Linked DNA regions of Homo sapiens: all the other regions are linked to region 2. Evidence: promoter capture Hi-C in 16 types of primary human blood cells and fetal thymus (Javierre and others, 2016). All regions are on one chromosome and are shown on one strand. The core of a region is centred on a gene start or on the middle of the fragment in contact, and the rest is flanking DNA. Distances in the headings are between cores, read along the strand shown. Region 1 holds the start of SLC35E3 (solute carrier family 35 member E3). Region 2 holds the start of RAP1B (RAP1B, member of RAS oncogene family). Region 3 has its middle 3.5 kb from the start of LINC02384.

What was found. Contacts are between HindIII fragments. The CHiCAGO score rates a contact against its expected background, and 5 or more counts as called.
Region 1: a contact is called between the fragment with the promoter of SLC35E3 here and the fragment with the promoter of RAP1B in region 2, in 1 of 17 cell types (neutrophils). The highest score is 6.6, in neutrophils.
Region 3: a contact is called between a fragment that was not itself captured here and the fragment with the promoter of RAP1B in region 2, in 1 of 17 cell types (non-activated CD4 T cells). The highest score is 5.3, in non-activated CD4 T cells.

Annotation. Positions count from the first base shown.
Region 1 is chr12:68,744,607-68,748,476 of GRCh38, reverse strand. It overlaps SLC35E3 (solute carrier family 35 member E3), which reads right to left and starts at 2,301. Exons shown (of 5, transcript NM_018656.5): 1 at 1,698-2,301; 2 at 437-547. The coding sequence starts at 2,099. It overlaps NUP107 (nucleoporin 107), which reads right to left. Exons shown (of 28, transcript NM_020401.4): 28 at 2,668-3,870. RefSeq lists enhancers at 1,279-1,468, 1,829-1,938, 1,989-2,088, 1,938-2,628. The HindIII fragment of the contact is 13,773 bases long and covers 1-3,870 here.
Region 2 is chr12:68,609,559-68,613,278 of GRCh38, reverse strand. RAP1B (RAP1B, member of RAS oncogene family) reads right to left here and starts at 2,380. Exons shown (of 8, transcript NM_001010942.3): 1 at 2,236-2,380. RefSeq lists a silencer at 2,064-2,523. The HindIII fragment of the contact is 9,459 bases long and covers 1-3,720 here.
Region 3 is chr12:68,453,277-68,456,767 of GRCh38, reverse strand. No RefSeq gene overlaps it. Among named protein-coding and RNA genes, the nearest start is that of LINC02384, 3.5 kb to the right of the region's middle. The HindIII fragment of the contact is 177 bases long and covers 1,775-1,951 here.

The DNA.
Region 1 (3,870 bases), core at 1,052-3,551, 140 kb before region 2:
ACAGCAGTATAATTTTTGAGGCAAAAACATCTAAAAATCTGAAATTTTTCATTACTGTTCAGATTTCTGGAAGTATACTCACTCCTTCACAACAATGTTAAAAGTAAAGAGTAAACAGAAAACATAACAAACTTAGGAAGTAAAAAGTCTTACTAGGTATTTTGTAAAGATTTCCCAGAAAATAACTTCACCCCAAGCTGAGACTGTTAAGCATGGATATTATACACTTACAAACAGGTAGGTATTTGGTGAGCATCACACACCCAAGTTTCTCTGTCTCCTTTCTTCTCTTCACCTTGAGTCAGACAACTTATGCAATTATGCTTTCTTCCCAACAGTCTATTGTCTCTATACTGTATTTTCTAAACCTTGGAATACAGCTTCAAAATTTATGAAATCTGCTAAAAAGGCACATAAAGAAAAAAAAATTACCAACCACTTGATAAAGGGATGTAACTAAAACACCAAGAGCAGCAAACACCATTCCAAGGAAATTAAACTTCACATCGTAATAAGAATTTAGGATTACACCTAAAGTTATAGGAATCTGTAACGAAAAAGAGGTAAATGTTGTTCAGATTAAATTCAAGAGACAAAAATTTAGTATTCCTTTCACAATGTCTTACAAGGCTAATGATAAACACATAACTGGGAAACAATGAACCTGTATAAATGTTTTCTGTTTTGACTTGGGAAAACTAGTTGTTAATCCTATTTCCTAAACGTGAAATATGACAAATCTATATTGATATTCACATTTAATTCCATTCTAAATTTGTGGTAAATATATTGCACTTTGCAAGAAAATACCACATGAATACAAAGGTGAGTAAATGGATCCCCAAACTAGTGTCTAAACAGCATAAGCATAAATATAAAACAATAAAAGCATAAAGACCTTAAATATAAGGCCAGGCACGGTGGCTCACCACTGTAACCCCAGCGCTTTCGGAGGCCAAGGCGGGCAGATCACCTGAGGTCAGAGTTCGAGACCAGCCTGATTAACATGGAGAAACCCCGTCTTTACTAAAAATACAAAATTAGCCGGGCGTGGTGGCGCATGCCTGTAATCCCAGCTACTCGGGAGGCTGAGGCAGGAGAATCGCTTAAACCCGGGAGGCGGAGGTTGCGGTGAGCCGAGATCGTGCCATTGCACTCCAGCCTGGGCAACAAGAGTGAAATTCCGTCTCAAAAAGAAAAAAAAAAAAAAGAAAAAGACCTTAAATAAGTTACTAAGTGCTAAAATTGAGTCCACCTCCTTTTATTTAAAGATGCAGACAGCTCTAAAGTATGGTGCTGCAGACGTTTTGAGACCTACTTTATGCTACATCTTTTCACGTTTTATCATACACGATTTGATTCCCCTGGGGGAGAAAGGCTGTTTTTGTTTGAGCTTTTGCAGATATTCTGATAACACTGGACTGTACCACCCAATACAGCTTTTTTTCTTATCGATCACAGCATTTAACGATTTCCATCAAATGGCAGCTACTAAAATTCACACATGCCCACTCTTCTGGGCTGACAAGATGGCCTTTTCCCCCTCCCTAAAATAAGCCTAAAAGTTCACATGCCCACAGATGACTCATTTGTGGATTTCAAGATGAAGGGAAAGACCAGTGTGCGTTCGAATTTCCCGGGGCCAGTGCAGGAGGTGGGTCGGGAGAGCGGCGCCTTGGGAAGCTGAAGCTACTCACCAGCGTGAGCTGGATTCTGGTGGAGAAGGTTTTCTGGTAGCAGAAGGTCTGGATGGCTATGATCACCGGCGTGGTCATGGCCTTGGCCAGCTGATAGGTGCCTATGGTGTTGTTCTGCAGAGAAAGGTTAGTGAAGACCACAAAGCCACAGAAGCTGAGGGCCAGGAGGAGGAGCCTGGAGGGCGGCAGACTTTTGGGGGCAAAGATGTCCAGCTTCTGGCAGATATACAAGCCCAGCCAGGTGACCACGAAGTGCACCAGGGTCAGGCTCATGTTGGGGAAGCCGTGGTACACATAAATCCATTTGTTGAGGAACACAATGCAGATGGACACCAGCAGGTTGAACAGGAGCCCGGCGGCGATTCGCCAGTGGCCCCGCACTCGGTCCACCAGCAATGCCATGATCCCCGCGAAGCTGGGGCCGTCTAGCCTCGGAAGGGGCGCCGGGCCTGTCTCCGGCTGCCCTTCTACTCCACCGCCGCGTCCTCGCAGACGCCGACCTCACCGTCTGACCCAGGAGTGGCATGCACAGATCAACCCCGGGCGAGTAGCACTCTTAACAGAGGACACACACCCCGCCGCCGCCCTGTAAGCCAGCTAGGACGCCGCAGCACGTCCCACGCCCCGCTCATCTCCGCCCGCAGCCACGTGACTCGGGGCTCCAGTGCTTCCGCCCCCGAGCCGCTGGCTGAACGGCCGCTACCCTGCGCAGGCGCGCTGAGCCTTGGGCGCGCGACGCTTGCGTCTTTGGGTCCTATCCTCTGGGTCCCCGACCCCCTTGGTCACCTAACGCCTACCTGACTGGACCAATCTAGGACCCCTTTCTTGATGTTTGTTTCCTGTGTGTCATTGACCCGATTTGCTAGACAACTTCTCTCTGGCTGTGCAGACACTGTTAGCCAATTTTACGTATTAAATGCTGAGCAAATTTAGTAGCCCTCGCCAGAGGGGGGAAAGAACTTATTGAAAGCATGTTTTTATTTTTTATTTTTGGAAAAAGACATTCAAAATTTACTTTCCAACAGACAGCATCATCGGGTATAACTACAAGGGTTTCTCCTTAGATCATACATTCACAAAGCATTATTAGCTCAACAGTGAGAAAATGTGTTCTCTAAAGATGTCCCCTTGACAATGTAAACGAGTGCTACTGTGTTCACTTACAACTCGAGAAAAAAACGTACAACCTGGCAAAACCGTATATATATACAGCTGTCTCTAGGGGTGCATACAAATATATATATATGTTTTGGATCAGGTCAGGTGCAATGACTAAGAGATAGAACTTTGAGTAACAGTCTTGATCGACAGTAAGGTCCTTCACACAGAAGTCAGGTTCTTCCTTTCTCCTTCCTCCTTAAGTCGATAAAGAAAGATTATATATTGTAGATATTACAGGTACAAAAGGAGATTTTTAAAAAAGGAATCACAAAAACATCTTGAATGTCCAGCTGTTCCTGCCAATACATCAATTCTTAGTTTTAAGACAGAGTCTAGGATTAATTCAGCAGTCATAAAATTAAAAAGAGAGACTGTGGTACAAAAAATTTAAAATAAATGAGGAAGTAGGGCATGGTGGCGTGGGCCTGTAGTCCCAGCTATTTGAGAGACTGACGTGGGAGGATTGCTTGAGCCCAGGAGTTGGAAGCCGGGATGGGCAACATAGTGAGACCCCCATCTCTAAATTAAATAAATAAATGAGGTAGGGAAATTAAAACTTTCACACCCAGGACATGCCTGTTCCAACTTTGTAGCCTTCATGCAATGCTCAAGGAAAAAGTCTTCATAATTCCTTGGCATAAGTCACACCAAGAAAAGTTTTTAAAACTTAGTATGCGAACCTGTGATAGGCAACACGCCCTTCCCTGAGTTTCCTCTCTAGAATGAAAACCCAGTTCTTCAAGAGTAGGCACTGAGGAACTAAATTAAGTTGCCTGAAATTTCCCACTCAGGTGCCCACCACTTCTGGTGTTCAGGAAGAGAGGCATTTGGGAATTGTGAGGAGCACATTGGCACTCTTGGGGCTCCAACTGAACTGTATTTAAATAAGCAGCAACACACACATTGACTCCCTAAGGACTCAAAGGAGTCCAATTGGCTGGGTGCAGTGGCTTATGCCTGTAATCCCAGCACTTTGAGAGATCGAGGCGAGTGGATCACTTGAGGTCAAGAG
Region 2 (3,720 bases), core at 1,131-3,630:
TTCATATTCTCGTGCCTCAGCCTCCCGAATAGCTGGGATTGCAGGCGCGTGCCACTACACCCGGCTATGTTTTGTATTTTTAGTAAAGACGGGGTTTCACCATGTTGCCCAGGCTGTTCTCGAACTCTTCACCTCAAATGATCCGCCTTCCTCGGCTCGGCCTCCCAAAGTGCTGGGATTACAGGCGTAAACCACCACGCCCAGCCAGAGCAATCATTTTCATGCCCCATACAACATTTTAAAATTAAGTCAGTTTAGCATTGGTTCTTCAGTTATATTTTGATACCTGGCATATTAAAAACAACAAACTGGCTACATGTGTTCCAATGATTTACTTTAGGACTTCCTTAGATAAGGCAGCTTCACGATTTATTGTCAACGTCAAACAAGGAAATGCAAGTGAAAACACCTAACGTAGTACACATTAAAAGCACAGATGAGCTCAAATAAGACTAAAGGAAATGCAAGTGAAAACACCTAACGTAGTACACATTAAAAGCACAGATGAGCTCAAATAAGACTATCATTCAGGCTCTGTGTGCTTAAAGTTATTTAATCTGAGTATCAGTTTCCTCACCTAAAACCTGAGGATGAAACTACTCAAGTGGTTTTTTCTCCTATTTGACTAAGGTACCCACTTTTTAAAAGTGCGATATGGGAAGAATATTCTTTGTAAGATGATAATTCACTATAAAAACGTTGTATTTCTTTCTCCATGTTGTCTCTTACGGATAGACTACTGTCCTAAAGGTCAGTGGACCCACTAACTGGTTATCTTATCTAGGCCTCAGTTTCCTCCTCCATAAAATGACAGGGTGGGACTGGATGATCTAAATAGTCCCTTCCGGCCCTTAAAAAGTCCCATGACTCCACTATGACTCAATAAATACTATTTCAAGAGTCAGCTTTTAAGAATAATATGGGCTTGAAGTTAAATGAATGTCTCCCTTTTCTATAAGTTACTTTTTGTTAAGATAAGGTCTTGTTGAGCAAGTCCAAACAGTATTCTAATTACGAAAAAAGAGAGCTGAAAAATAAATTTACAAGTCAGAGCTTTAAATTGTTAAGTACTCGACATATATGAGATGCTGCCTGCAAAACCAAAATCCAATTAGACGGAATTAATTTTAAAATACTAAAATCACAATCTTCATTTAGTGTCAACTTTCTACCCCGTAAAAATGTGATTTCCCCTTACTGCAACACAGAACTGCTTCTATTCATACCAATCAGAAGTTACAGGGCCAAAATGTTTTTCTAAACTATTAAAGAGAGTGGGAGAGGGGGGAAAGCGAAGGGGAAGGAAACCATCTGCTTTAACTTGCAAAAATGATCTTTTCTCCAAAAGACATCAGTGTTTTTCAGAAGAAAAATCCGGAGAGCCCGGTTCACTGGGCGTAGTTTTAAATAAAATTCATGGCGCTGATAGTTTTAGGATTAGACACCTCGAGATGGCGAAAAAGAGAAGAGGACAAACTTCCTGGATTTTCTCTCCCTCTAAGAGAAAGAGATTTCCTCTTGCTGACGAAGGGAAAGGCCCCTTTAACAGTTTTTCTCTACACGGTGGCTGCTGCCAGACTAAGTGGGGCTCTCTCCGCTGCCTTCCTCCTGCCACTTCCCGCAACAAATGGAGCAAGCAAGCCCCGTTTCAGGCAAACTTTTTCGCTGTCAGGCTCAAGCCCGCGGGGCGCCTGGGAGTGGTTTCCCCCGAAGGCTCCTCGCCCTAGCTCGGGGCTGGGAGAAGCTAGGTCTTCGCAAAGGACAACTTTCTGGTTTCCGTTCTAACTTCCACCCATACCACGGAGGGAACCCAGGCGACAAGCGAGGGGGCTCGGGGCGGGGAGCGAGTCTTCGGGGGAGCCGGCGGGGAAAGGAGGGCGGCGGGAGAAGCTGCGGCGGACGCGGGCTGAAGAGAGCGGGCGGGTGGGGGGGTCCTCGGGCTCTCACTTCCTCCGCCATATTTCAGACATTTGACCCCTTCCGCAAAGCGCGCTGTTCTCCCGCGGCGGCGGCGGCTGCTCCTCCTCGCCGGCCCGCAAGGCAGCGCGCTCGCGGGCCCGGCGCCTGGCCCTCGCGCCACCTGCCGCGCGCCGAGGGGCTGCCGCCGCCGGGGCCCCTGACCGCCGCGCCCGGCCCGCGCCTCGCCGCACCCCACCCGCTCCCCTCAGCCGGCGCCCGGCCCCGCGCGGCCGCCGCCGCGGCTTCCCTCAGCGGCCACGCACTCACTCTGCGAACCTCTCACGCTGTCACCGGGTCCCTGCAGCCAGCGTCGCCCCGCGCTCCCCCCGGGTCGCTACTCTAGGCGCCACGGCGGTCCTGCCGCTGCCGCGCCGCTCCGGCTGGTTTACACGCCTGAATCTGGGCGAGGTTTGGCGATGTCGCCTTGACGTCAGGCGTTCAGCCTCGCTCCAGCTTCCGCCCGCGGGCGGGGCGCGCGGGTGCGCGGCCCGGGAAGGGGCGGGCCTAGGGGGCGGGGCGAGGGGAGCCGAGGGGGCGGGGCCGCCGCGCGCCGGGTCCTCGGCGCCGGCCTCTAGCCGGCCTGCATCGCAGCCGGAGCGCAGGCCCTGCCCACGGGCCCCTTAGCTGCCTCTGGGCGGCATGTCTGCCGAGGTTCTTCTCTCTAGCTGCGCCGCGCCTTCAGGCTCGCTTCCCCAGGCTGTCTGGTGGGCGGAATCCGCGCGTCGGTGTTCCTGACCCTCGTGGGTTCCAGTGGAACCCTCCGAAACCCAAAAGGCGCCGCCTCTTAATGCAAACTGTAGTCACCGACTCGTCCAGTCTGTTGGTATTCGCGTCGTCCTTTGTGCTGGGCAAAGTAACCGAGAAGTAACGGAGAGCGCGCATTTTCTACACCTAGAGCTCCCCGAGGGAGCCTGGGCCAGCAAGTCTTTCCATTCTTGAGATGCCTTTTCTCCTGGATTGACAAGTGTTTTATCCATTGGTGTCTTAACCCGGGCGAACTCTTTCCAAATTCCCATGCCAAACGCAGTTAACAAATCGATGATTTCTAAATAAGTTTGTACCCTGCACCTAAACCAACGCCATTTATATAACTAAAATAAATTGCGTATTTAAATGCATGTCCTGGACGCTTTATTCACTTCACAGGATTACCCATAGGCAAGTAGGTTTATCGTGTGACTTCAGGGCACCAGAAAACACTTTCTGTTCCAAAATGCCTCGTTCCAAAAAGGGCGGGAACTTAACACGGGAATTTACCATTCTTACTTACCCTTAGTACAAGAAATTTATCAGAACTTTTTCTTGAAGCAGTTTTGATGGGCGAGGAGATTAAGAGAGCAAAGTGCAGGGAAAAGGGATTGAGGGGTCATTTAAGACTAACTTTCTTGGTTCATAATTTAATTAGGCCCTGTACAAATTATTCTTGAAATAAATCTTAATAAACGTTGATAAATTTGGAAGATAAATGGAATGTGACTAATTTCACTCCGTTTAAGAATATGTAGTGATTGAAAACTAAGCTAACCTAAGTTAAATGAATAGATGAGAATGAATTATAACAGTTCTCTGTGTTTTATAATGTTTTACAATTTAGGTTAATTGAGTAGATTACCTATTTCGATAATTTCTATTTCCTTAGAAAAATATCTTTTTAAAAATTGTTTATTGTCTGCATTTATTGTGTATACAACATGATCGTTTGAAGTAATGTATACATTGTTACATTACCTCACAGAGTTACCTTTTTTTTTGAGAGTCTTG
Region 3 (3,491 bases), core at 614-3,113, 160 kb after region 2:
CTAAACTGAAAATTAGACAAACTATTTATTACACACAGTACACTAACAAAATACGTAAATACAACAACAAAAGGTAAAGTGGATTATGAGTAAAAGAATAACTGTAGGAAGTAATCTAACCTAGGGGGTCAGAGGAGGTAGCCAGTAGGTATAGTCTTGCTTAGTGTAAAACAAACAAAACTCCCACAAAAGCAAAAGCATGGCTTTGGTTTGATAAACAGCATAATTCAGATATCAAATATTCCTAGTTAAGTGTGTGGTTCTAGGCCTTTAAAAGACTGAATCATGCGGCAGGTGGTGGTTATTTTCACCATGAAGTTGGTAGAACAAATCAAAGTTGACAGGATATCAAAAATCCTGATTGGCTGCAGTTACTGAGTGACTGCTGGGAGAAACGTGGTTTTAAGAAAGGCTGAGATTGGTATGTAGGCAAAGAGCTGGGAGAGAACTCCAGGTCTAGGAGATAGTTTGGAAGGAGTAAAAAGCAAACAAGAGGTAAACAGAATGATGTGATGGGTGGAAAAGCACAGGAGCCCGTGGGGAAGACTGGGCTTTAAGGGCACAGACAATGAAACCAGCTAGAAGGCAGGAAGTGCACCCTGGGGTGGCCCTCCGGTACAGGAACCTGACCTGGACAGGAAGTGAAGGGTATCATCTGAGGAGCAGGAAGGGGAGATGTGAGGGAAATAAGTGTCCATTGCATAAACCTTGCTAGAGCTTTTATCCTGTTACAGGGTTGTAGGCAGCTTGGAGCTTCTCTAACAAAATAATCTGGCCTGCTGGGAGGTATTTGTGAGGGACAAGAAGGGAGACAAGAAAGGTTAGAGTGTGGGCAATTACCATGGGGCTCTGTCTTGTCTTGGCTCCCTTTTGGATGACATAAGATCTTTGTCTTGGATCCAAACAGGATGAAAATAAGTCTCATTTCCTCCCCTCTCCCAACCCCCTTCCTCCCATGATGAAATGAACTATATGGGACTCTTGGTTGACATAAATCTTTGTGCTTTAATAAAAACTAAAGGTTCAGGAGTGGGAAGTGGTTAAGAAGTTGTTTGCTGGGGATTATATCAATAATTCATCCTGTTTAGACTGAAGAATGACAATGATAAAGAAGTTAAAACAAAAAACCAACAAACAAACCCACTAGGGTAAATGGGGCAGGGGAAACTGAGAAGTGAAAATGAAGACAGAATTGAACATATGTGAATATAAACTTTTTTTTTTAACCAGCTGTAAACAAAGTGGTATGAGGAAAGATGGGAAGAGATATAAAAATAAACAGCATTAAGTTAAAGGGGGTAATTATAGGAGCCAAAATGAGAGGTGAGTGTCGCAAAGGATCCAGCTAACTTTAGAGACTTGAGAAGTTTCTTCAAACATTTCCTTTCAGGACACTGTGGGGCTTTCAATCTTTCAGGATTTAACAAGACCCTAAATGTATATGCCTTAAATTCACACAAACACACACTTTTTTTGTTTGTTTGTTTTTTCCTGTTGGGGGAGAAGAGAGAGTAGGAGATGTATTCTTTGTTGTCATTTGGAAAACAGTTTCCGGTACATTTTATTTGCTTTTAAAAGCCCTGGAGAATAGTCAGCAAATAGAAATTGGTTTGCAGAAATAACATGGCTTCCTGGAACTTAGGGGGAAGGAAATGGGTGGTTTCTTTAATTACTATAGTATTTGTTTAGTATAGTGTGTCTTACAACTAAAGATAGAATTCCGGCTAATGTCCAGGAGGGAAGGTGAATTTGGATATTAATGAATTCGGAAGCTTCATACAGTTGTGTTGAATTTACCAGGTTAAGTAAGACAATAATGCTCTTTGTTTTCCCTATCCTGGCCAGATTAGAGTGGACTGAAGTTTGTTTTCAGATATCTAATCAGTTTAAATTCAAGTGCATTATTATTTACATATGAAGAGCTAATGACTTTAATGTAAGCAAGTAAGCTTATTTACAACAAAGAAGTGACTGGGTGACAAGAGGAGTGTCGATATTGCCTTAATTAGTTGATTTGCCAATTATTCTTTTCTGCTGGGTGTGATAGTACTTTTCCTAATGAGCAGCAGAAACAAGAATGCTCCAGCAAAAGCGATTGTAACACAGTAGTAGCAATAGCTTCTTGGCCATTTTAGGTCCATTAGTGCTGAAGTTGTCGACTTTATACAATTTTTCAGACTTCATAAGATTGAAGAACCAAGTATATTCCTGTAGGTTTATCCTATTTATTTATCAGCTATGTGACTTAGCTCAAGTCTGAGAAGCTTAAAAGGCATTTACTGAAAGTGAAAATAAATTAGATGGCAGGTTTGAACTTAAAGAAGAATTAAAAATATGTCCCACAGCAGTGCCATGCATTTATTTCTTCAGGCTTCTTAAAGACATTGATTGGTAATAGATGCATCCGCGCTCATTGGTGTGGGAAGCCCTGGGGGAATGGCTAGAAGACTCCTTCATTTTCTTTTGTGTAGGTTTGCATTTCTTCTGTATTTGAAAGTCGTGATACTGAAGAAATTCAAAAATCCCCAGGAGATTCCATGTCCACATAACAAATGTAAACTTATCTTTACTTTAATGTGTTCACTTCTCATAACTCCTTGACTGGAACCCTTCACTTCATCCAGTCTGAGAGTCTGTAAGTTTCTGCCGCAGGCATGCACATTCCTGACACCACGCTTTTGCTTGGCTGTGCCTCCTGCCCAGAATGCTGTCTATTCTCTTACGCACATCCTCTCTGTATCCCATTTTTGTCCTATTTCTTCCTGATTCAGAGAGGGTGGTGATTGGTGGATATGGCTAACATTTATTAAGTATATCTCATGCTTTACATACTGTGGTGGCAATTTATGTGCATTGTTTAATGATACCCCCGTTTTACAGGTAGGGAAAGAGAGGCTTACAGAATGTCACTGGGCTCACACTAGTAAGTGGCACAAAGCCAGAATATAAATCTAGGTCTTTCTGGTCATTTCTGGACTTAATCTTATAGTGTCTTGAATTGTTTCTTAGCTATTGCATCTACTAAGGCCTTATTTCTCTAACCAGATTGTCAGTGGCTAGAGGCAAGGAGCTTACTTATCTTTTAGTCTGCATAGAGCAGGCCCTCAATAGTGATAGCCTTCTATTGAAGTGAAAAATAACATGTAAAACGTTAAAGGATTTTTATTATTTGGTTAAACACTGGAAGAAAGAAACAAATCACAGGAAACTAATTTCTCAAAATTACTGCATGAACACAAGACACTGTGGTTCTTAGTGTGATCAGCACCACTCACATGGGTGTCTGGAAATGTGGGGGCAGTCCTTAGGTTGTCAGGATTCTGAAGGTATCATGCAGTTATAGTGTGTGGTAGACAGGGACGTCAAACACCTTGCAGAAAGTAGGACCGTTCTGCACCCTGCAGGGGCCCAATAAGGGAAGCAGCACCTGGAAAACATGGACCCAGATGCCAGATTGAGTTCCAACTTGCCTCCACCTTTTACTAACTGAG